Regions from separate parts of the Homo sapiens genome. Here all the other regions are linked to region 1. The links are contacts of gene promoters, found by promoter capture Hi-C in human tissues and cell types (Jung and others, 2019). All regions are on one chromosome and are shown on one strand. Each heading gives the region's core, a stretch centred on a gene start or on the middle of the fragment in contact. The rest is flanking DNA. Distances are from core to core; before and after follow the strand shown. Region 1 holds the start of SLC19A1 (solute carrier family 19 member 1). Region 2 overlaps ADARB1 (adenosine deaminase RNA specific B1). Region 3 holds the start of COL6A1 (collagen type VI alpha 1 chain). Region 4 overlaps ADARB1 (adenosine deaminase RNA specific B1). Region 5 has its middle 25 kb from the start of COL6A1. Region 6 overlaps ADARB1 (adenosine deaminase RNA specific B1). Region 7 overlaps PCBP3 (poly(rC) binding protein 3).

Region 1 (3,369 bases), core at 631-3,130:
ACTTATGTGCCGTGAACGTAGCCCACTGACAGAGGCTTGGCCATCACGGCCCAGACCACCTCCAAGAGGAAAGATAGGGAACTTGGTCACCATCATAGAAACGCAGCCCCAAGCCAGGGGACGCCTAGACTCCAAGTGTCCAGACCCCAGCCCAGTCCCATACAGCTTGAGGCCTCTTCCCGGCATCTGAAGGAAGTCCCCGACCAGACAGGAGGGCCACGGGGAAGCAGAGAGAATCCCTGCCTTCAGGAGAAGGTTGTAACAGCCCCTGCAAATCCCCGGCCCCACTGTCCACAGTGACCAGCCCCACCCAGGCCCTGTCCTTCCAAGCACCAGAGAAGGCCAGAGACCCGCAATCAAAACACAAGCAAACGCCACCTATCATTCCGTGTTTAAACCAGCTCCTACTCTGGAAGGCTAACCAAGAATGTTCGTTATGTTTTTTAGAACGCCTGCTAGTTTAAAAAGAAGAAGAAGAAAGCATTGCACACCCTCCCACCCCTGTTCAGATGACCAAGTTCAGGGTTCCTAACAGCATAATTAGACCCTCCGGCTATCACTGCTGCAGGCCCAAACACCCGAGAAGCACTCTTTCTCATCTGTGTCCAGCAGAGATAACTGTACTATCTGGAATTATAAAAATCCACCAAAGCCCCTTCGGAAAGAAAGCAATTAGCAATTGCAACAAGCAGTGCACAGGTGGCACCCAGGCAAAGGCGGCCAGTGAGATGCAGCCTGGCTCCCAGGCCTGGACAGGGCAGGCAGGTGCACTGGGCCAGAGGCACCTCGGCTCTGCTGATTGAATCTGGGCTGTGCGGGGATCCTCGGGTCTCCGTAGGGGGAGGCCACCTCTTTACAGGGCGGCCAACAGGCGCCTCCAAGGACTTTATCCCACCTTCCCTCTGGATGCATTCTGGATTTCGGGGCCAGCTTAGTTGGCCTGTGTCCTGAGGCCAGGCAGGCCAGACTCCCCAGGACAGGAGTTTCCGATGGACAGGACCCTAGGGGGATGGCTTTCCTGCTGTAGCGGTGTTGGAAGGACCCACTCGGGAAAGGCTCCAGCGGCTGTCCAGGCTCTCTCTGAGACGCCTCGGGATTGCTCCGCTGGATCCGCACCCACAGCTGCTCCAAGGGGAAGTTGCACCTACAAAGCTTCTGGCACAGGAGACAATGGTCTGGAGATGTGCCAGGGGCCCGCCCCACGCGTGGCTGGCAGGGTTCACCCACCGGCTGGCCCGTCCCGAAGCAACACGTGCCTGGGCGCGAACGCCGGATCCACGCTTTCCTCCAGACCCGGGGGTGGGACTTGGCGCCCCAGGATGACGCGGAGGGCAGGCTGGGGGCCGGGACTCCCCACCCCATTCGCAGGCTGCGGCGGAAAGCGAGCGGCGGGAAACCCGCTGCACAGCAACGGTTCTGCCAGGCGCCCGGGCCACCGCGACCCCCGCGGAGACCCCGGCCCACGCCCCGCACCCTCCCCAGGGCCCCCCAGACCCCAGGCTGCAGACCGCAGACCCCGGCCACGCCCCGCACCCTCCCCAGGGCCCCCCAGACCCCAGGCTGCAGACCGCAGACCCCGGCCCACGCCCCGCACCCTCCCCAGGGCCCCGCGGACCCCAGGCTGCAGACCGCAGACCCCGGCCCACGCCCCGCACCCTCCCCAGGGCCCCGCGGACCCCAGCGCCAGCCCCCACACTCACCTCACAGGGCCCTGCAAACCTCGGCCCGCGCCCCGCACTCACCCCAGGGCCCCGAGACACCCCGCAGCCCCCGACACGCGGCCCCGTGGCCCCGTTCCCCACCGGTACCTGCGACTCGGCGGGGCGGCTGCCCTGGGGCTCCCGGACCCGGCCCCGCGCACGCGGACTCCGGGACTACAGCGCCCACAAGGCGGCGCGGCGGGCGCGCGGCTGCGGGGTGGGCGGGTCCGTCCCGCCGAACGCGTCCTGAGGGCGGGGCCTCGCGCGTGGCCGGGCGCTGCGGCAGGAGCGTCCCCACGGGGCACCCTCCCACCCACGGCCGTCTCCCAGCCCCGGCGCCGGCCTCTCCCCACCCGGTCACCGCCGGGGTCACGCGGCCCCTCGTGCTGCGGCCCTACCCCTGGGGCCGCCCCCTGACCCCGACCGCCCCTCGGGCCCCCACCCCCGCCGGCGTCAGCATCCTGGGGTGCCACTCGCGGAGGTGTCGGTCCCTCGGGCGGGCACCCTGCCATCCCTCTCCCCCGCGTTCTTCCCACCCCCGGTCCCCTCCTGACCCCCCCTCCTCGACGAGGCCTTGTGCGTTTTCCTTTTGGCACCCTGGAACACCTGCATTCCTGGCCGCAAGCTGGATCCGGGACGCGGGTCGGGCCCACGCGCCCTCAGGGGTGGCCCTGGGCCGCCTTCGTGGGGCTCCAACAGGGACACGCACAGCCTGCTCTTGGGGACCGCACGGCCCCGAACTCGGCGCCCCCGGGACCCCGCCGCCCGCCCTCCTGCCTGACCGTGACCCGTACGGGCTTGTACCAAGGAGCAAGCCGGATCCAGGACGTGGCCCGGGGCCACCAGTCCCCATCCCAGCAGGGACAGCCCGGGGGAGACCCGCGCAGGCCTCGCAGACGGCAGCGCAGTCACACTCAGGAAGGGGGGCCTGGGCCACTCTCCCAGGAAGGCGTGGGGCTGCGGCAGACAGCACCGCCGAAAGCCCAAGGCCTGTGCAGGACACGGGGAGAAGTGGGGGGCCTCAGGGTCACTTTCCCCTGGAGTTACCCAGGGCCTGGCTATGGGGAGGGAAGCCAAGCCGAGGGCTGTGGGGGCCCCAAGGCTAAGGAGGAGCCAGGAAGTCCACTGCACAGAACAGAAGGGGACGGCCACCGTGGTACCCACAGCTCAAGAGTGCGGGTCCCAGGCGAGGGGTGAGTCTGGGGCAGCAGCCCCTGGAATGTACCCCTTCCGGAGTGTAGACAGCACAATCCGCGACCTGCCTCCTGGTGTTGCGGGGGTGCTCTTGGTCTCCCGCCCACCAGCAGGGCAACCCCACCAGGAAGCCAACACAGGGCCCTTGCCCTAAATGGCCGCCTGCCCAAAGCTCTGGCCTGGGCCTTCTTTCCAGAGTCCTGAGTGTAGCAAGCCACACGAACAAATCTCAAAGGAACTTAAAAAGGATTTGTTGGCTGGAAATGGGGGATCTGGGGTAGCTTGCAGAATTTAAGGGAACACTACAGGATGGAGCGCCTCACCTGGAGGGACCCCCTGCTTTGTGGGAGCCCTGGCTCTCTCCCCTGTACTGGCCTTCTCCACGGGTGGGCAGAACCTGGCCCTGCTGGAAGACAGGAGGGGCAACGCGGAGGAGGAGGGGCCCTTCCTTCCCTCCAGGCAGAGAGGAGCCAGC
Region 2 (3,369 bases), core at 528-3,027, 440 kb before region 1:
TAATTTCCTGTGGGAGAGCAGCAATTTCATTATTCCTTTAATGAAGCTATAGTTGATCATCCTTCAGTGCCTAGTATACAGCCTGTTAAATTAGGGTCTTCGGATTGCTCTGCAAGCCTTTTTAAAAAAATAATTTACAGGCTGGGCGCGGTGGGTGGCTCACGCCTGTAATCCCAGCGCTTTGGGAGGCCGAGGCGGGTGGATCACTTGAGGTCAGGAGTTTGAGACCAGCCTGGCCAACATGGTGAAACCCTATCTCTACTAAAAGTACAAAAAAAATTAGCTGGGTGTGGTGGCGCACACCTGTGATCCCAGCGAGCAGGAGGCTGATACATGAGAATCACTTGAACCTTGGGAGGGGACCACTCCAGCCTGGGTGACAGAGCGAGACTCTGTCTCAAAAAAATAAAAAATAAAAATTTACAATTTATGTTAAAATATGTCATTTTAAGTTATGTAAATCCAAGCATAATTACTGAACACAAGGCTCAATCCAAAACATGCACAGTAAGCCCGTGTGAAGTGTTCACATGCTGTTCTGAGGCTGGCTGGATCTGGAGTTTCTGGGAGTGCTCTCTTGGGCTGGCACGTCTTGGGCTGTGGGGGCCCTGAAGCCCTCCTAGATGCTGGACATTGGTGTGTGTGCAACTTGGTGGTGGTGTTGGGGTTACTTTCCAGAAGCTACTCAAGGCTTAGTCTCAGTTTCTATCTAAAGATATTTATATGGGAAGTATTCCAAATGTGGATTTATAAAGATAACACATGGATAGAAATAGTGTAAAACTTGTGTGAACTGAACCAGCCAAGCTTCTAGTCTTCCCTTTCCAAAACTTTCCTTTTTCTCCCCCCGTGTTAAAGATTTAAAAATATATGTTTAAAAAGGTCACTTTTAACTTGTAAAAATTATTCAACATATACAGAAATTTAAAAAGCAGCATTGCAGGTTATGTGAGATTATGTATGTCTGCTCTTTGGAACTAGGTTGAAATGATAGCTACAAGGTTCTTTGGAAGAATGGGGATGTGTGGGTGAGAGTGGAGTAGACAGGCTGGGCTTACTAACTAGGCTTGCACTGGCCCCCGTCAGTCACTGTTCCCAAGTCAAATACTGCATTGCACTGAACACCAGAGCAGCAGTGCATTTCCTAGAGAACTCTGCAAGGCTACAGGTGGCAGACTTAGGGAGCGCTTGCCATCCCTGCCCTTCCCAGCTCTACCCAGAACAAGGAGGCCTCGCACACTACCTGGTCATATTTTGACTTCATGCATTTAATGAACCAAACTAAAGGTAAATATTTTCTTTTGATTCCCAAGGCAGACTTGTGGGTACCCAAGTTCCTCAGCCCATCTTTAACTCAGTAGGATGTGGCATCTCCATTGAGGCTCTTCATGGAATCCCTGGAGGTGAAACCTCGGTGTCCGGTTGCTCCAAACCAGTGCTGGTGGGATTCAGTTTTCTGGACCCATTTCTGGGTGAAGTCAAGGAATGGAGGCGGGCGGCTGTCAAGCGTCTCTGTTGCTCAATGGGGCAGGCCAGTCCCAGCGGCGACTTAGAGGTGGCTGGCTGGGCGTCCCTACAGGAGAATGGGCCACAGGGCCAGCGGGGCCAGCAGGATGAGCAGGCCTGGTTTGGGGTATGGGCCGCAGGCGTGGAGCTCGATGCTGGGCAGGGGCCTGCTCACTGACGAGTTGCCACCCGGGATTGGGGTAGGGGTGGGCGCGGTGGTCTCGGGCTCTGAGCGGCTCTGCACCGGCAGGAGCAGGACTGGCAGCAGCAGCAGCAGCGCCAGTGCGGATCGGGCCGCCATGGCCAAGCGCTCCGGCTCGTCCCGTAGCAGTGCCGCGGCGGCGGCCGCTGCCGGGAGTGTCTGTTCCGCGGTTACGCGGGGTCCTCTCCGGTCCTGTCCAGTGAGGTCCTGACAGCTGTACCCTGGCCCAACCCCTGCCCACGGCTGTTAACGATCAGCCTCGGGGAGCAGGTGTGCCGCCACGCGCGCCGTAGCGCTCCGGAGCTGGCTCTGCGCTCACGTGCTCGCTGTGCCCTGCGCGCGGGCGGGCCGTGTCCCCGCAGCCCCGCGCCTGGCGCTGCCAAGCTGCCCAGCGGGCTTTAGCAGGTGCTGAAATGCCCGCTGCCAGTCGCCGAGTGCTGGGTGCAGAGGATCTCTCCAGACACCTAGGCTCCCTTCTTTCGCGGCACGTGGGAAAAACTCCTGAAGTGCGTGCACAGAGTTTTTGTTTTAGAGGCTTTGACGTTATGATTAAGTATACCTGTGATGTAACGAAAACCTTTTTTAATGCTTCTCAAAAGATTTGCTAGCGTTTAACATTTACCTCCTGTACTGGAGTTTAAAGGAAGCGTTGCTTCTTAAGTAATCAGTGATCCTTTTGCTTTTGGAAATTGTAATGAACTTCACCATCGTAGAGCTTTAATATTTCTTTCCTGAAGCAGAAAGCATGTGAAATTTTCTGGATAGTGTATACTTAATACACAAGCTTTTGGAGTTTTTGAATGCTGGGTATGTTAGCACACCAGTCTTGCTGACTATTACGTGGGAGATGAGTGCTGCTTAAAATTGTGTAAGGGGTCAGTAGTTACAGTGGTGGACATACTTTTGCCAGACATGGTTTATTTTAAAGTGAACATATTTTGTGCTTATTTATTTATTTGGGACAGGGTCTCACTCTGTTACTCAGGCTGGAGTGCAGTGGTAATCATGGTTCACTGCAGCCTCAACTTCCAGGCTCAAGTGATCCTCCCACCTCAGCCTCCTGAGTAGCTGGGACTGTGGGGCTACAGGCGCACTACCACACCCAGCTAACTTTTTTTATTTTTTGTAGAGACGGAGTCTTGCTGTGTTGCCCAGGCTAGACTTGAACTCCTGGCGTCAAGCGATCCTCCCTCTTCGGCCTCCCAAGTTGCTGGGATTACAGATGTGAGCCACCATGCCTGGCCAATGTGCTTATTTTAATTCTAAATCAGAATTTCTATAATTATCTTCCTTACCTTGGTGTCTGTCTGTTATCAGCACAAGGGTTTAAAATAATTTTTGATTTCTTGGAAGTAATTACGCAGGCAGTTCAATGGGAGAAGGCACTTTCCTCAGCACATTTGGGGTGCTGTTGTCAGAAAGAAGGGGATGGATTCAAGTCAGCAAAACCAGCTGTAACCACAACTATATTTTTTAAACATGTAGCTGCATGTTCCATAAAACAGCATATAAAAAATAGAGTGAGCATTCTTTATTGGAGAAATAGCTGATTCTAGGACTGGGCAGGAAATAACACAAGTGCCAGGAATGCCAAGGAAATGGCAAGGAAATGCCGAGAAACAAACATAACCACACCCACATCAATGGGTGGTGTCAAAGGG
Region 3 (3,369 bases), core at 382-2,881, 440 kb after region 1:
GATGACAGAGTGAGCCCCTTAGATAATAATAATAATAATAAGGAGGAGGAGGAGGAGGAGGAGGAGGAAAAGAAGGAGAAGTACTTTACAACTTCTGTAACGTAGGTGTGGGGAAAATATTGAAGGCAATCCAAAAACAGTCACTGTGGAGTTGTGGAATTAAGTATCAATTTTAAAGGTTTTTTCAAATGTTTCTTTAACATGGTTTTTGGTATGAACAATTTGTGTACGTTTTAAAATTATAAGACATTTAGGCTGGTGTTAGGCAAGTCTCAGCAGCTCCAGCTTTGGGAAAGCTCTTCTGGGACCTTCTGTGGGCCAGGGATGCATCTGGCCACATCTGGAGCCCACCCCCAGGTGATATCAGGGACAGCCCCTCTCTCCTCTCTCTGTCTCTCTTTCTGTCTCTCTGTCTCTGTCTCTCTGTCTCTGTCTCTCCGTCTCTGTCTGTCTCTCCTCTCTGTCTCTCTCTGTCTCTGTCTCTCTGTCTCTGTCTTTGTCTCTCTCTGTCTCTCCTCTCTCTGTGTCTCTGTCTCTGTCTCTCTCTCTGTCTCTCTCTGTCTGTCTCTCTGTCTCTCTCTGTCTCTGTCTCTCTCTGTCTGTCTCTGTCTCTCCTCTGTCTCTCTGTGTCTGTCTCTCTGTCTCTGTCTTTCTGTCTCTCTCTCACTGTCTCTGTCTCTCTCTGTCTCTCTGTCTCTGTGTCTCTCTGTCTCTGTCTCTCACTGTCTCTCTCTCTGTCTCTGTCTCTCTGTCTCTCTGTCTCTCTGTGTCTCTCTGTCTCTGTCTCTCTGTCTCTGTCTCTCCTCTGTCTCTCTGTGTCTCTCTCTGTCTTTCTGTCTCTCTGTCTCTCTCTGTCTCTGTCTCTCTCTCTGTCTCTGTCTCTCCTCTGTCTGTGTCTCTGTCTGTCTCTCTGTCTCTGTCTCTCTGTCTCTCTCTCACTGTCTCTCTCTGTCTCTCTGTCTCTGTCTCTCTGTCTCCACACACAGCATATATAACAACTATATTGTGAGCAACTTTGTCTTCCCACGGTACAAACTGAAATATCTTTGGCAAATACGTATCCGACTATACTGTGAAGAAATATTGACGTGAAAAAAGAACGCGGAGATCTGATAAAGCAACAATTCAGCTCACGGCGAGGTCCTCTGCAGGAGGCGGTTGGTGGGAAGAGGCGAGTGAGCCTGCCCGTGCGTCCCGCATGGAGACGTCTGGATTGGAAACTACCGAAAGATGTTTCAAGGAACTCTCCCTGGGTGACACGCTGGTTTTCAGACGTTTGATTCAGCTGCTGCAGTTTCCTCCTCCCTGACACGGGAACTGAACTGCAGGCCGCGGCGAGCCAGCCAGGGAAACCGCCTTCTCCCTGGGCTCGGAGCTGCTGCCGGTTCTGGAGGGAGAGACCCCAGCAAGGAGGTGGTGACTCATGGGCCGCTCCTCCCCGCCCCGCCCCGCCCCTCCCCTCCCGCCCCGCCCCTCCCCTCCCGCCCCTCCCCTCTCCTCCCGCCCCTCCCCTCCCCTCCCCTCTCCTCCCGCCCCGCCCCTCCCCTCCCCTCCCGCCCCTCCCCTCCCCTCCCGCCCCTCTCGCCCCGCCCCTCCCCTCCTTGCCCTCCGCTCTCACTCTGGCTGGGAGCAGAAGGCAGCCTCGGTCTCTGGGCGGCGGCGGCGGCCCACTCTGCCCTGGCCGCGCTGTGTGGTGACCGCAGGCCCCAGACATGAGGGCGGCCCGTGCTCTGCTGCCCCTGCTGCTGCAGGCCTGCTGGACAGCCGCGCAGGATGAGCCGGAGACCCCGAGGGCCGTGGCCTTCCAGGGTGAGTGGTGGCTTGGGGTGCAGGCTCCAGACCCCCCGCTCTTTGCTGCCGGCCAGGGCCAGATGCGCGGGGTCCCCTCCCACGCGTGGAACTGCAGACTGGGGGCCTGGAGCCCCTGAACCCCACTCCCCGCTCGGGGCGGCTGCAGCGCCCAGCTCTGCCCCACCGGGCCTTGGCCGGGGCCCCTAGAGGCTCAGCATTCAGCATTCTCAGCGGGGCCGGACCGCAGGCAGCTCGGGAGGGGCTCCCTGGCGAGGGGGAGCTGGTGCGGGGCTGTCTCGGCGCCCCGTGAATCCGTTTGACCCCTCACCTGGCAGTGAGTCCAGACGCACGGCCCCCCCGACCCCCGTTCTAGAAGAAGTCGTGCGCTGCTGGTTCTGAATCCAGCGAGAAACCTTCCCGTGAGGTCTCACTTGTCCGGTCCCGTGCCGGGGACGCCCTGCCCTTCGGGGGAGGTTGTGAAGGTTTCTGACTCCCCTCGAGGCACAGGAGCGGTTTGGGGTCTCTCACTCCACCCCCTCCCCACCGTCCCCACCGAGGGACGTCCTGCTGCCTTTTCCCGGGAGAGCCTCTCCGGGCCCGGGGCTCTGTGCTGCAGGCGCTGGGCTGGCCGGGAGGGCAGGCCCAGCAGAGACTCGGGGAATGGGGCGAGAGCTTGAAGGCCCCTCTCCTCCATCTTCGGCCAGACTGCCCCGTGGACCTGTTCTTTGTGCTGGACACCTCTGAGAGCGTGGCCCTGAGGCTGAAGCCCTACGGGGCCCTCGTGGACAAAGTCAAGTCCTTCACCAAGCGCTTCATCGACAACCTGAGGGACAGGTAGGAGGGACGCCCCGTGACCTTCCTCCTGTGCTTCTGGGCCTCTTGGAGGGAGGGGTGGGGGCCCAGGGGAACACGGGTGCGACGGCCTCAACCTCCTAAGGTTGGGCGAGCGTTGCCCTGACCGGGGCCCCTCCCGGCGCCCTCCAGAGTGAGGCCGGGGCCCTTTCCGGCGCCCTCCAGAGTGAGCTGGTCTGAGCCTCTCCCAGCGCCTTCCAGAGTGAGCTGGTTTGAGACCCTGCTCGCGGGGGTGGCACCTGTTCAGCAGGGCCGAGGTGACAGTGAGGCTGAGATGTAGGGAAGAGAGGCTCCCGCAGGCTGACCGAGAGGGCTCAGCGCACTGGCCCAGACACGCAGTCCTGCCTGGTGCGCGGGAGCCCCTCACTAACCACCTGGACCCTGGTTTGTTCCGTGGGCAGTGAGAGCCTCTACCTGGGTCCTGGATCCCACGTTCTGAAGGTCCCCGACTCGGGAGCCAGGAGGGGTGTCGCTCTGCAGCCCCAGGGCCCCCAGGCTTGGTTCTGGGCTTGGGACACGGCACCCTCTGCTCCACGTTCCTCCATCTGTGCGTGTGGCTGAGGACAGACCGGGGGGAGAGGGGAGTCGGTCCTGTGGGTGCACAGGGCCGCTGAGGGGGGGGCATGTAGAACGGGGCTCCCCCACTGAGACGGGTCCTGGCAGTGGGGACACAGCTTAGCCGGCGTAGGAACCCCCGTCCTCCTTGACCCTGCTGACTGGCCGCTG
Region 4 (3,369 bases), core at 377-2,876, 420 kb before region 1:
ATGGAGGAATGGTTTGTATTTTAATTTTCACTGTATAACATTTTAGTAAAGCTTTTACTGGAAATGTTTTCTACCCATATCCTCAGGAAACCATGTGAAGTAGACAGCCTTGCATTTCCTGGATTGCTCCCTCGAAGGATGAAGGGAGCAGTTCTATCAGATGCTCTTCCCAGCCTCCTTCTCCAGGGAGACCTAGCCGCTGCTGTTTTGAGTTTCCTGGGAGGACATCCCCCAAGGACTCTCTGGCTTGTCCTTGTGAAGTTGGTTTGCTTTTTGTGCCAGCTTTTTAGGCTTACAAAATGTTGTGTGTGTGTACATAGGAAAAATATGGAAGGGTACGTACCCACTAGTTTGTGTCAGCACTGGATTCTGGCATATATAATAGATGAGGAGTTTCTGTTATGTATATGGGATTTCTGAGATACACAGGGGTTTTCTGTGCACATCTCTCTATAACGCAGCTGTCCCGTCACATCCTGCATGTCAGTACAGGTAGTGCCGTTCTCTTCGTAGGACTGTGACACTTTATCTTTGTTCTTTCACAGTTAAAAAAAAAAAAGCTTCTTTAAAATTCTGACTTTATATAACTAACGCAATGCTCATGCTACTTCACTTGTTACAAGAACATATTATTCTGTCCTATAGATGTACTGCAGTTATTTAATGGATCAGCTATTGATAAGGGGGCCCTTTTAATGTAACTATTTTAAAAAATGGAAGTAATACCAGCACATGGTAAAAAACACATTGCAGCTCATGAATGGGTATAAATTAAGTTGGAGATTTCCTCTTTCTCCCTCCCCACCCCATGCCCCGTTTCCAGAGGTAAACAATGTACAGTTTGTGTTTTCTTCTCTTAAGTTCTTCTTGTAGTCACCATTATAGCTTTAACTTTTCTGTTTGTGAGTTCATGTGGAAGTCAACAGTGCCTTCACACTCTGAGTTTTGATGAGATTTATATTGACAAGGCTTAAAACATTTGTAGTGTTTCCCATCTATCATTAGGCTCCCTGTGCTTTTCCTGCAAGTGTAGTCTAAACATTTTAATATAAGAAAAGTAACATTTATAGTATTATGATAGTATATTTTGCCATAGAACCAAGTGGTATGAAATGTAATTCTGCCTCACCAAACCTTTGCCAATAAAAGGAGAATATTCAGATGGAACTCCCAGTTTCTCTTTAGGTGTCCGCTGTTTCTAGCTGCCTCAGTTGCCATGGTTTCTCCTATCCCATGGTGTTGGTTTCTTGGATTCTATTTTTGTTTTGCTGGAGCACCTCCTTAATCCACTTCCTTATAGAATGGATGGCTGACAGACTTCTTAATTCACTTCCTTATAGAATGGATGGCTGACAGACTTCTTAATTCACTTCCTTATAGAATGGATGGCTGACAGACTTCTTGGGTTTTTGCACGTAATGTTCAAACATGCAATTACTTTGTTCTCATACTTATTGATAATTTGGTAGGGTCTAGAATTCTAGGATCGTATAATTTTCCTTTTGAAATCAGAAAATATTCTCTATTATTTTCCAGAGTCTAGTGTTGGTAATGAGAAGTTGGATATCCGTTTGATCCTTGTTCTACTGCAGGTAAACATCTTCTACTCTCTCCTTCTCTCCCTCCCTGGGCTTCATGTCCTGACGGTTTGATTTTTCGTTACCCTAAACCCGGATCTGCTTCTCTTCCAGCCCGCGTGCCCATATTGGGATCACCCCTTAGAAAACCTCAGGCTTTCTTTGGAGAGCGATTCTCAGGTTTCAGCCCAGGAATAAAAGCGTTCCCTATGGCTCCTGCTTCTTGGGAAGACCCCTCACCTCTGTTGTCTTGCTCTGCAGTTTCCTCTGCTCTCTCGCATCAACCTGCTTTCGTCTGCCTTATGCCCTAAAAGCCCTGGCAGGCTTTCTTGTGTTCTGCTAAATCCCTCTGTAAATTTTTAGCACCGTGCACTATTATGGTTCATTCACCACCAAAAAGTACCTTTTCTGACATTTTAACAGAGCTCTGGGAAGAATGGAGAGAAGATATGGTGTACTTTATCACCATTTTTAATTAAAAGCCCTTTTAATTAATTAATTTAGAGGCAGGGTCTCGCTCTGTCACCCAGGGTGAAGTGCAGTAGTGTGATCGTGGCTCACTGCAGCCTCCACCTTCTGGGCTCAAGCAATACTCCTGTTATCAGCCTCTTGAGTAGCTTGGACCACAGTCACGTGCCACATTGACTGATTAATTTTTAAATTTTTTGTAGAGGTGGGGTCTTGCCGTGTTGCCCAGACTGGTCTCGAACTCCTAGGCTCAAGCCATCCTCCCACCTTGGCCTCCCAAAGTGCTGAGCACACCACTGTGCCTAGCCTAAAAGCCTTTTTAGATCACTCTCAGTGGCAAAATTAGTGCCTTGGTCACCTTTACCAGTAGCTGTTCTTGCTCTCCAGTGGAAATATCACTCAACATTATCAAAGAATCGGGATGAAATTAAATGAACCAGTTTAGGTACTTTTGATACAGAAGTTCTTATGAGACGTGTTGTTCTTTACTATGTAAGAGTGTGGCCATAAACTTAAAAATAGCTGGGTAACTTTGTTACACTTGCCTTGATGGTGTGTTGCAAGTTAGTTAAATTTCATATACTCTTAATCAGCACATCACCAACAAATAAAATGTTACTGCTGCATCAGAATTTAGAGGAGGTTCTATACATCTGTTTCGAAATAAAGACGGAGATGACTTAGGGTACTTATAAGTTGTTGAAAAATCATGGCTCCTGAAACTATGAATTGTCATCGTGGTATATACCCAGACAGCCCACATTAAACTGCTGTGAACATGAGAAAATGGACATCGAAATGATAAAAGCAAGAGTGTTGGTAATTGAAATCCATTATAAATAAAGCTGTCATTGGTAACGCACGAAATGCTGTTTCTGAGGATGAGGACTTTGTGGCCCCCACGTGGGCGCATTACCAAGCTTTGCAGCTCTGCACAGGAGCCTCCCTTCTTGATACTGAACTAGACCTCTATAAAGCCTAGTAACACCTCAGGTTTAGGTTATAAATCTTAAATTTTAGTGCCCCGTAATAATTCACTTCGTAGGTTACCATGGACTAGCCCTTAGTTGCACTGAGAAAAGAAAGGCTATGAAATTTTGTTGGTGAAGTGCCAAAGAAAGGATTGGGTTTTGGGTCATCTCACAGCCCATGGTGAGGGCTGTCTTTGGCCTCTACCGCACGGACAAGTTTGCATGTCAGATGTTGGCACACTTGTGGGGTATTGGGTTCTTTTGAATATCTGATTAAATCCATTTACATTTTCGTTAGAAAAATTCATCTGTGCATATGAACGCATCATTTCATATATGATTTCACACTTCTC
Region 5 (3,369 bases), core at 400-2,899, 410 kb after region 1:
TTTCTGTATTTTCAGTCTCTATTTTTATTTATATTTTCCTCTTTTTTTGCTCAATATTGTCAAAATCAATATATCTTTTCAAAGTATGATCCTTGGTTTTTGCTACTCATATTATTTTATTTTTCTCTATTTCATTGATTTCTGCCAGTATCTTTGTCATTTCCCTTTTTCTTATTACTTTGGGATCATTTTGTTACATTGCTGTTTTTTCCAATTATTTCATTTGTATGATTAGTTCTATTTCTTTTCTTTTTTCTTTTTTTTTTTTTTTTGAAAGAAGGTCTTGCTCTGTTCCCCAGGCTGGAGTGCAGTGGTGCTGTCATAGCTCACTGAAGCCTCAAACTCCTAGACTCAAGCAACCCTCCCACCTCAGCCTCTTAAGTAGCTGGGACTACAAGTGCTGTTAGAAATACCAAAATTGTTCGAAATAGATAATCGGTGCCGCGAAGAAAAGTCAGCACAGACACAAAAGATCTCTCAGCAAGGCCATCTTTACTTTCTGCAGAAAGGGTGCTCAGTCACAGATGGAATGATCGCGAGAGGTCACCTAAGCAAAGGAAAGGCAGACATAATTAACCCTTAAGCATTTGGGTCGTCCTTACTGTTGTGTCCTGCATCCATTGGCTGGAGCTGGGCCTCACAGTCTTAAACTGATACCTGATTTGCTAATAACCTGAAACTTTCCTAAATAGGTAATTAGGAAAGGTCTAAGGAAGCAATAACATTTCCAAATAAGGAAGGGGCATAGGCTGTGAGCTGGAACGTGTCTGTGAGCATGTCCAACAATTACATGGGATAGGGCTTAACAAAGAGTTATTAGCACAAAGCAAGGAGAATTGAAGAAAGTCTTTAAAAGAAACTATTATTTCTAACACTTATGATGTATTCTTTAACAAGAAGGGGAAATTTGAAGAGGAAAACTTTTACTCTCTACAAGCGTGCACCACCACACCCAGCTAATTTATTTTTTCATTTATTGTAGAAGCAGGGTCTTGCTTTGTTGCCCGGGTTGGTCTGCAATTCCTAGGCTCAAGCGATCCTCCACCTCGGCCTCCTGTAGTCACCTGGGATTACAAGTGTGAGCCCCCACGCCCGTCCTATTGAAAATGTATTTATGACTGTATATTTCTAGGTACTCTTAACTGTGTCCTGTGACTTTTGACATACGGTATTATCATTATTATTCAATTCTAAAGAGGTTTTTCATTCCCTCAAGAGTTCTACTTACCCAAAGGTTACTAGTAAAATGTTATTAAATATCCAAACACATGAGATTCTCTCAGGTATCCTTTGAATATTCATTTCCAAATGTTTTGCATCATGGTACGAATTCATAATCTCCATGACACGGATCCTTTGGGGTTTACTGAGGCATCTTTTATGACCTAATCCAATGGTCTCTTTTTGTAAGTCTTCCACGTCTGCTTGAGTAGAAGTGTATTCTCTGCCTGCCACCCGCTCTATGTGGATCTAATAGCTGGTGACTGCGTTGTCAAGTCTTGAACAGCTTTGATGCTTTTTGTCTGATGTGATCTATGTAGAAGGCAGAATCATGGCCCCCAAAAGATGTGCAAATCCTAAACCCCAGAACCCATGAATACATCATATTCCATAGCAAGGGGGTATTAATGTTGCCAATTAATTAAGGTTTCTACTCAGTTGACATGAAAATAAAGAGGTAACTCTGGCTTATCCAGGTGGGTGCAATTTAATTACAAACGCTTAAATGGGGAGGTCAGGGGCAGAGGGATGATGTCACAAACACACCCATGTGTGCTTGGTGCAAAACAGTAAAACAAACAGCAAGAAGGTCCATGAAGGAAAGATCGCCTCTGTCAGTGGGAGTAATGAGAGTGGCTGATGGACAGGTGTGTTAGGCTGTTTGCACTGCTATAAAGAAATACCTGGGGTTGGGTAATTTATAAAGAAAAGAGGTTTATTTGGCTCACGGTTTTGTAGGCTACACAAGCATGGCCCCAGTGTCTGCTTCTGGGGAAGCCTTGGGAAGTGATAGTCATTGCAGAAAGTGGCCATGGAAGCAGGCACATCCCATGGCAAGAACAGGAGCAAGGGACAGAGTGGGCAGAGGAGCCAGGCTCCTTTAAACAACCAGCTCTCATGGGAACTGAGTGAGAACGTGCTCATTGCCAAGAAGATGGCTCTAGGCTATTCATGAGACATCCACCCCGTGATCCAATACCTCCCCCCGGGGCCCACCTGCAACACTGTGAAACACATTTTCACATGAGATTTGGAGGAGACAAAACCTCCAAACCATATCAAGTGGCACACTCACAAGAAAACGTGTCAGTGGCCAAGACGATTTGCAATGAGGACTGGATGAGGCTGGGACCCAACTCTCTGTCTCTGACATTCCTGCTCATCTCATGGACAGAGGCACTGATTGTTCTAGACCATCTTTCCAAGGGTGTTGTTTTGTGACAGCCTTGATAATATGTCCTTCCAGATCAAAGGGCAGGTTGCTTACACCCTAATCCTGAAGGTAAAGACGTTTTCTCCCTCCAAAGCAAAGAGCAGGCATGCTTACTGTCCATTATAAAAGATTCACGTTCCCTGAGCTCAGGGTTCCTCTCCTGCAGTGCAGTCCACGGTGTGTGCAGATGCCACTGGGCCCACTCTGTGTCACTGTTTGGGAAACGGGGCTCGGAAACTGGTGTGAAAAGTATGCTGATACTCTGTTAGAAAAAAATGCCAACATTCTGGCTACTGATATTGCTGTGAGTAATAAAGTACTTCATCCTTGAAAAACCAAAAGGCCCAGTTAAGATAAGGTGGACAGAAAAACACCTAAACAAAGGTAAGGCTTGCTATGGAGAGTCAAGCCAACACTGCCTCCAGTGTAAGAGTTTCTAGTGACTTCGTTCCCCTTCTTTTCCCAATGCAAAGACAGAGATGCCCTTTAAATGGAGGTTTCAGCTGGGCGGTGGCTCACTCCTGTAATCCCAGCACTTTGAGAGGCTGAGGCAGGCAGATCACTTGAGTTCAGGAGTTGGAGACCAGCCTGGGCAACATAGTGAGAGCCCATCTCTACAAAAAATACAAACATTAGCCAGGCGTGGTGTTGCATACCTGTAGCCCGAGCTACTTGGGAGGCTGAGGTGGGAGTATTGATTGACTCCAAGAATTCAAGCTGCAGTCATCTGCAATCACACCACTGCACTCCAGCCTGGGTGACAGAGTGAGACCCTGTCTCCAAAAACAAAAACAAAAGAAAAGAAATGAAGTTTCATTTATTGATGTAAATTGTTCTTACAAAGCATTTCAAAATAACCAGCTGAAAACAGTCCTATGCCAGAAGGCATCTTTGAGAAGCTAAGTTGGCTGCATCACCACTTTTCCAACCCAGCT
Region 6 (3,369 bases), core at 464-2,963, 400 kb before region 1:
TCACCTGTCTTTCACCAGAACTGTGTCTTTCTCCTTGGCAAGAAGTGTGTTTTGTGGCCAGCTTTAGTCACAAAAGAGACAGAAAATGAGCCTTTCATTTTTGTGGCACCCTTGGTAGAGGGGTAGGGGAAAGGGCTTCAGGACGAGCACTGGATCAGCTTACCAAGCCTGAAACCACGCCCCCTGCTGGTCATCCTAGAGACTGAGTGGCCCATGTGCTCGTGGCCTGTGGGCCCTGGGCGGCCTCTCAGTTTCCTGCATGGAAGGCAGCAGAAGCACTTATCTGGCCCTCAGCTCCTCGGTGGTGTCAGTTTGTCTGACCTCTGTCAGTTTGTTGTCTTCTTTTTTTTTTTTTTTTAAGACAGAGTCTCGCTCTGTTGCCTAGGCTGGAGTGCAGTGGCACAATCTTGGCTCACTGCAAGCTCCGCCTCTCGGGTTCAAGCGATTCACCTGCCACAGCCTCCTGAGTAGCTGAGACTACAGGCGCATGCCACCATGCCTGGCTAATTTTTGTAGTTTTTGTAGAGACGGGGTTTTGCTGTGTTGCCCAGGCTGGTCTTGAACTCCTGGGCTCAGGTGATCCACCCATCTCAGCCTCCCACTGTGCTGGGATTACAGGCGTGAGTCACTGCTCCCAGCCTTGTTTGTCTTCTGTGTTACCAAAGTAGAAAACTTCTTCTGTTCTGTAACCTTGGTTCAATCAAAGTTCCAAATTCATAAATGGCACTTATATTATTATGACGATTGCTGAAAGTCATGCCACAGTTTAATTTGCTTTATACTTGGATTTGGTATACTTGATTTTTTGGTTCTGTTTTCTCTTTTTCCTGATTTCCTTGATTTTTTTGGTTCCGTTTTCTCTTTCTCCTGGTTTCCTTGATTTTTTGGCTCCGTTTTCTCTTTTTCCCATATTCTTGCCTGGCATGGAGTGGTAGAGCAGAGTGGGGAATGGAGTTGAGTTTGGATCCAGCGGTCGAGCAAGTGTCTCAACTCCCATGCTCAGCTTCCTCCTCTGTCACGTGGGGCAGGGAAGGTGCCTGTCGGGCGCAGCGAGCGTGGTGAGTGGTAGTGTGGGGCCGCGTGCGCCCGTGGGCCCTGAGCATCAGCACTTCTGCCTCTCCGTGTTCTCTTGTTGAGAGGGACCACTGCCTTTCTTATGCTATCGCCAGCCTTTTCCAGCTTATTCATTCTGTTTCTTGGAACCCATTTAATTCATTCTTCTTGAAATATGTGTATTTTCTATTTTATTTCAAATTGAGACTTACCTTTCTTATAGAATTTGTTTTCTTCTGGGATCTCTTGATTTTTTTAAAATTGGATTTACTGAGGTAAAATGTACAGACAATAAAACTCTTTTTTTTTTTTTTTTTTTTTTTTTTTGACACAGAGTTTCGCTCTTGTCACCCAGGCTGGAGTGCAATGGCATGATCTCTACTCACTGCAACCTCTGCCTTCCAGGCTCAAGCGATTCTCCTGCCTCAGCCTCCCTAGTAGCTGGGATTACAGGCGCCCGCCACCATGCCCGGCTAATTTTGTATTTTTAGTAGAGATGGGGTGTTGCCATGTTGGCCAGGCTAGTCTCAAACTCCTGACCTCGGGTGATCCACCCACCTCAACCCAGCCAAAAATCATTCTTCTAAAGTGTGCACTCTAATATATTCTGACAAATGTATGCCAGTGCCACACCACCAAGCAGCTGAGGTAGAGAATATTCTTACCCCAAAAAGTTTCCTCTTACCCCGTGCAGATGTCCTACCCATCAGGGCCCAGGGCGACCTTGTCTGATGTTGATGTCCCATCAGATGGTTTGTATTCAGCAGAGCACCTAGACCAGGCTGTGAGGTACAGGTCCGCCCCTGGCAGCCCATGCCTTGTAGCTTCTGGGTGGCTCCTGGCTTGGTTGCTGTGGTGTGGAGCGTTGAGTGACCTCTGCAGAACAGCAGATGGTGCTGTAGGGCCGCTTCTAAGACTCAGTGGAGGAGGCTCAGTGGCGTTCTGAGCGGTGGCCACCAGGACAAACCTCTTGTCTTTACACCATCTGTGTGTGTGTGCGTGAGTGTATGTGTGTGTGCATTCCAGTGTGCGTCCAGAAGCCAGTTTCCTTCAGAAAGCTTTCTGTTCCCTGGCTTCATTTTTACCATTTAGAGGACCTGTGAAGCAATGAGATGGAATACTTATAGCTGGTTTAATTCAGTGAGTGATCTGAATTGTAAATAAAATTTTATCAAGTAATTTATAAATTTGATATAATAAATTAAGTCTGCGGAAGGGGCTGATTGTGTTATGGAATGAGAAGTTTTGTACATCTTTTGCAATTCTAAAAATTGTGGCCAGGTGTGGTGCTCAAGCCTATAATCCTAGAACTTTGGGAGGCTGAGACAGGAGGATTGCTTAAGCCCAGGAGTTTGAGACCAGTCTGGGTAACATGGTGAACCCCTGTCTGTACAAAAAATAAAAGTAAAAATAAATTAGCCAGGCATGGTGGCACATGCCTGTAGTCCCAGCTACTCGAGAGGCTGAGGTGGGAGAATTGCTTGATCCCAGGAGACGGGTGGCAATGAGCCAAGATTGTGCCAATGCACTCCAGCCTGGGCGACAGAGCGAGACCCTGTCTCAAAAAAAAAAGTTGTGACTTTGCTGTGTAGTCTTTGTGTAACATAATTTTATGATTCTATTGTTTTAAGCTTAATATTCCAAATAGGTAATAATTATGTTAAAATGCAAAAAATTAGCCTATACTCTCATGATCTAAATATGTAGTAGTGGTTTTACAGAATATATTTCAAAGGATTGCCATTCTGTTTTATTTTTAGTAGCCAGTTATAGAAAGCATTATTTTTAAATAATGCCTAAGAATCTTTAAAGAAATACCTGTCAATGTATGTTCCAGTTTAGTATCAAATTTATATTCAGAGCTCATAAGAATTTAAAAAGTTTCCCAGAGTCTGTAAATGGGGATGGAGCTGTCCTTCAAGGGTGATAGTCCCCCTAGGTTTGAGTTGTCCTCTGCTGCTAGCATAGTACCACCTGAGCTACCTGTGGGCCACCTTCACCACCCGTGGGTCCCTCCAGCCACCCCAGGGACACCTTAGCCTCCCTGGGTCGCCTTAGCCACCCCTGGGCCATGTTAGCCACCACAGGATCACCTTAGCATCCCTGGGTCACCTTAGCCACCCCAGGGTCACCTTAGCATCCCTGGGTCGCCTTAGCCACGCCTGGGCCATGTTAACTACCACAGGATCACCTTAGCATCCCTGGGTCGCCTTAGCCACCCCAGGGTCTCCTTAGCCATCCCAGGGCCACCTTAGCCACCTGTGGGTTACCTCAGCCACCAGTGAGTCACCTTAGCTACCCCAGGATCACCTTAGC
Region 7 (3,369 bases), core at 423-2,922, 370 kb after region 1:
AGGCAAAGGCTTGGAAGCCCCGGTCGCCCCAAGGACTCACACAGTTGGGGCTGTGGGGGGCTCCTGACCCCAAGTCAGCCTGAGCGAGAGCGGTGCCGGTATGGGCGCCACAGGGGTGCTGGGGCTGCCAGCTCAGGGTCCAGTGTCTTCGTGGGGGCGTCTAGGGGAGAGCATGTGGAGAGGAGGGAGCCTCTCCTCTCATCTTCGGATTTGGGTAAGAAGTTGTCATCCCACTGAGGGGTCTTCTGCACTGAGTTGGAGCTGCAGAAACAGTGCTCTTTACGTTGGAGTCAGGCCTTGGGGGGCAGCTGGGGGTGGGAGGGAGGCAAAGGCAGGAGGCTCCTCTGCGCATGCAGTTCTGCAGAAGGAGGCGTCAAACCACCGTGGAGGAACAGAGGTCAAAACTCGGGAAAACATACAAAACTCATGCAGAAGTAGAGATGGGTGAACAAAAGCATTAAAACGGAAAAGCAGAGAAGAACCCGCTCAGAGCAGACGCCTCTCTTGAAGTTTCGGGGGGAGGAAAAAACTCAGAAGTATACTCAAAATTCATGAAGCTATCAACAGTTGCCAGTCTTTCCTGAAGCAAAAATGAAGAAGCCTCGCCCCAGATGGAAAGTTCTAGCAGCTCTGCAGGGTCAGCCTCCAGCCCCTCCTGCAGCCCAGGCTCACTCCTCTCTCGTACTTGGCTTGGGGTTCAAACCCCATGTTTGACTCTTTAAAAAATGTTTGCGTAGTTGTTGTTTCCCTGAAGTTTGATACTTTGTGAAGTGAAAAATATTTTTCAAAATATTCTTGTTCTGAAATCTTCCCCACTCCCTGGTTAGGGCGAAAGTGCCATGCTGGTCTGAGCTATCTGTTCAACTCTCCAGTCTCAGGCCCTGGAGGCCCTGCGGGCCGAGGCTCAGGAGCAGCCAGTGACACGAACAGTTCTAGGAGGGACATCCCTAATGGAGGGCCGAGGTCCAGCTCCTCAACAACACGTGGGTCTCGTCAGCGTCACCCAGTGCCTCTGCTGCCTGCGTCCCGGTGCAGTGCCAGGTGCAGCTCCACAGATGCAGGTGCACCCGCTGCCCCAAGGCTGCCCATGCCCCCAGAGCCATCATCCGAACCACCCTATCTCCTTCCTGGGCAGGGAGGTTTGAGCAAGACAGGGAGCTCGTAGCAGACATGGCCAGTGAAGATGGCCAGGCAGCTGCTCTCACTCCCGCTGGCTGTGCTGCATCCCAAGTCCCAGGGGCCATCATCCCAGGGAGGAAGATTCATCACACCTGGAAACAGCTGGGTCCGCCCTCAGATGAAGAGTGACTGGAAAAATAAAGCCAAGGATGCCTTAAAGACCCTCCTGGTTGATTGGAGGACTTCTGGGCTTGGTAGTGGGCATGCCTCACCTCACACCCAGGAGATGACGGAGGAAAGGGCTGCCCAGGGTGCCATGAGTCTGGGTGGGGCCTGCTGAGAATACAGACATCGCCACAGATGGTGCCCTGCCCACCCAGGGCCCAGCACCCTGTACCCAGTGCAGGGAGGCTCATGCAGTCCCAGGGGAGGCCAGCAGGCCCTGTGCCCAGAGAAGAAGTGGGAATCACAGGTCAGGGTCAGCTGGGAGCTCCTGTGCCTGGGTGGGGGTCGAGGGCCCATAGCACAGGGGCACTGGCCCGAGGCTGGGCATCTCCAGGAGCCGGGGAGGGCAGCAGCGGCTCCCGTCTACCTCAGTCAGTTCCTCCCACCCCAGGCCCAGCTCAAGTCAGCCCAGACCCGCCCCACATCCCCTTCCCCACAGTACTTGAGGTCACACCCCAGGGCCCTGGCGCTGCGGATCCAGCCACCCACTCCCCATCTTGGGGCTTTGAGTGTGAGTGGCGCTCCCTGAGTGCTGGGCTGGCCCTGAGTCAGCCAAGGCCCCAGAACTCCCAGCAGGACAGGCTGCCCCCTGCCAGGAACGGCTCATGGGCTCCAGCCCCCACCTCTTCCTGCTGGACCAACCCCAGCTGTGGTGCCCCCCAGGCCCAGGACTTCTGCCTCCTTGACCTGGGCCCTGGGGACAGTTAGACAGGGGACTCACCCAGGAGAAGGAGGGCAGGCTAAAAATGCTGGCGCTGGAGAATGTTAATCCTGTGTTTCCGACAGAATACCCAAGGGAAATTAAGGCAAACCTCATCGTAACTATGGGATTTTTTCCTCTGGAGTCTATAAGCACTTTAAACATGCTTTTTCACATAGTGAAGTGAGATGTTTCCAAGTCTCCTGTGGAGATCTCTGCTGACTGTCACCACGGGCCAAGCCAAGCGCTTTGGATATAGGTCCCGGTGGAGTCCTACAGGGCTCAACTTTCTCCAGAACATTCAAGAGAATTGCTCCAAGGGGCAGCTCCCTGTGAAGCCGTGCAGCCAGGCCTGCAGGGCCCTGCGCATCCCAGGAGGGGCCCCGGTGGAGGGGCCAGCACCGCAGGGGGCCGTCTGGGTTGGCGGCCAGCCCTTGTCCAGCAGGGTCTTGTGGGCAAGGGACCCACCCCAGCTGGCCTCCCACAATGGGACTGACTCTCCGCACTGCCACAGAGCCTCCCAGGGATGTTCGGGGCAGGCGGTACTCTCAGGAGGCCGGTGTGTGGCAAACTGCAGCCCAGGGCTCAGCAAAAAGGAGCCCTCTGGAGGGACAGGCCATAAGACAGCCACACAGAGGGTGTGGGGGCTGGAGGTCTTCACTCCCCTCCCCCAGCACTGCTGCGAAACTCGGGGAGGTGTGGGGAGCGTGGAGCTGGTGCAGGGGGCTGAGTGGGGTGGGCCGGGGCACGCCTCCCCATTGCCAGGCTGCGAAGCTGCTCTAACGCTCTCTCTCCCTCTCCTGTCCCTTTTCCTAGTCCCCACCGAAAGGTGCCACCATTCCCTACCGCCCAAAGCCCGCCTCCACCCCTGTCATTTTTGCAGGTGGTCAGGTAAGAGCCGATCCGCTCGCGGCCTCCACTGCCAACCTCAGCCTTTTACTGCAGCACCCGCCGCTGCCCGTTAGTGCACTCAGGTTTTCTCGCCTTCTCACGTGCACGTCTCCCACCCGTGCTGGAGGCAGAGCTCTTCCACCTACACCCAGCACCAGGCGGACGCAGGGGGCCTTCAGAGCGGCATTCCCCCACAGAGACGGCCCCACGGAATCATGTTCTCCCTCCCTGACCCGGGCAGGAAGATCTGGCTCTGCCTAAATCCAGTTCCCAGAACTGGGTGTTTTTAGGAAGCTTAGATAGCCGGCGCGCAGGCGCTTTCTAGGTGATTTTACGTCTCACGTTGGAAACAGCATGGTGAGAACCAGGGTCTTGTTTCCACTGACATCCGTGTTCCCAAACTCCCAGGATGTGCTTGTAGCAGGGACGTGCGA

Evidence for each region. The method cuts DNA at HindIII sites, captures the fragments that hold promoters and counts their contacts. A contact is called where the count stands out against the background at its distance.
Region 2: a fragment that was not itself captured here is called in contact with the fragment with the promoter of SLC19A1 in region 1 in 1 of the 25 tissues and cell types used here (dorsolateral prefrontal cortex).
Region 3: the fragment with the promoter of COL6A1 here is called in contact with the fragment with the promoter of SLC19A1 in region 1 in 2 of the 25 tissues and cell types used here (IMR-90 fibroblasts and mesenchymal stem cells).
Region 4: a contact is called between a fragment that was not itself captured here and the fragment with the promoter of SLC19A1 in region 1, in 1 of the 25 tissues and cell types used here (lymphoblastoid cells).
Region 5: a fragment that was not itself captured here is called in contact with the fragment with the promoter of SLC19A1 in region 1 in 5 of the 25 tissues and cell types used here (H1 embryonic stem cells, IMR-90 fibroblasts, dorsolateral prefrontal cortex and 2 more).
Region 6: a fragment that was not itself captured here is called in contact with the fragment with the promoter of SLC19A1 in region 1 in 3 of the 25 tissues and cell types used here (H1 embryonic stem cells, aorta and lymphoblastoid cells).
Region 7: a contact is called between a fragment that was not itself captured here and the fragment with the promoter of SLC19A1 in region 1, in 2 of the 25 tissues and cell types used here (dorsolateral prefrontal cortex and lymphoblastoid cells).

The regions. Positions count from the first base shown.
Region 1 is chr21:45,540,560-45,543,928 of GRCh38, forward strand. SLC19A1 (solute carrier family 19 member 1) reads right to left here and starts at 1,881. Exons shown (of 6, transcript NM_194255.4): 1 at 1,809-1,881. RefSeq lists silencers at 1,315-1,374, 1,725-2,034, 2,075-2,154 and an enhancer at 2,009-2,521. The HindIII fragment of the contact is 13,138 bases long and covers 1-3,369 here.
Region 2 is chr21:45,099,240-45,102,608 of GRCh38, forward strand. All of the region lies in intron 1 of ADARB1 (adenosine deaminase RNA specific B1), which reads left to right. Among named protein-coding and RNA genes, the nearest start is that of ADARB1, 26 kb to the left of the region's middle. The HindIII fragment of the contact is 4,715 bases long and covers 1-3,369 here.
Region 3 is chr21:45,980,139-45,983,507 of GRCh38, forward strand. COL6A1 (collagen type VI alpha 1 chain) reads left to right here and starts at 1,632. Exons shown (of 35, transcript NM_001848.3): 1 at 1,632-1,809; 2 at 2,496-2,625. The coding sequence starts at 1,713. LOC105372841 (a long non-coding RNA gene) reads left to right here. Exons shown (of 3, transcript XR_937803.3): 3 at 1,152-1,428. RefSeq lists enhancers at 1,390-2,252, 2,253-3,113. The HindIII fragment of the contact is 42,283 bases long and covers 1-3,369 here.
Region 4 is chr21:45,117,028-45,120,396 of GRCh38, forward strand. All of the region lies in intron 1 of ADARB1 (adenosine deaminase RNA specific B1), which reads left to right. Among named protein-coding and RNA genes, the nearest start is that of ADARB1, 44 kb to the left of the region's middle. The HindIII fragment of the contact is 3,865 bases long and covers 1-3,369 here.
Region 5 is chr21:45,954,783-45,958,151 of GRCh38, forward strand. No RefSeq gene overlaps it. Among named protein-coding and RNA genes, the nearest start is that of COL6A1, 25 kb to the right of the region's middle. The HindIII fragment of the contact is 8,613 bases long and covers 1-3,369 here.
Region 6 is chr21:45,138,581-45,141,949 of GRCh38, forward strand. All of the region lies in intron 2 of ADARB1 (adenosine deaminase RNA specific B1), which reads left to right. Among named protein-coding and RNA genes, the nearest start is that of ADARB1, 66 kb to the left of the region's middle. RefSeq lists an enhancer at 94-388. The HindIII fragment of the contact is 3,019 bases long and covers 205-3,223 here.
Region 7 is chr21:45,911,091-45,914,459 of GRCh38, forward strand. It overlaps PCBP3 (poly(rC) binding protein 3), which reads left to right. Exons shown (of 18, transcript NM_001384156.1): 12 at 2,861-2,935. Among named protein-coding and RNA genes, the nearest start is that of COL6A1, 69 kb to the right of the region's middle. The HindIII fragment of the contact is 6,282 bases long and covers 1-3,369 here.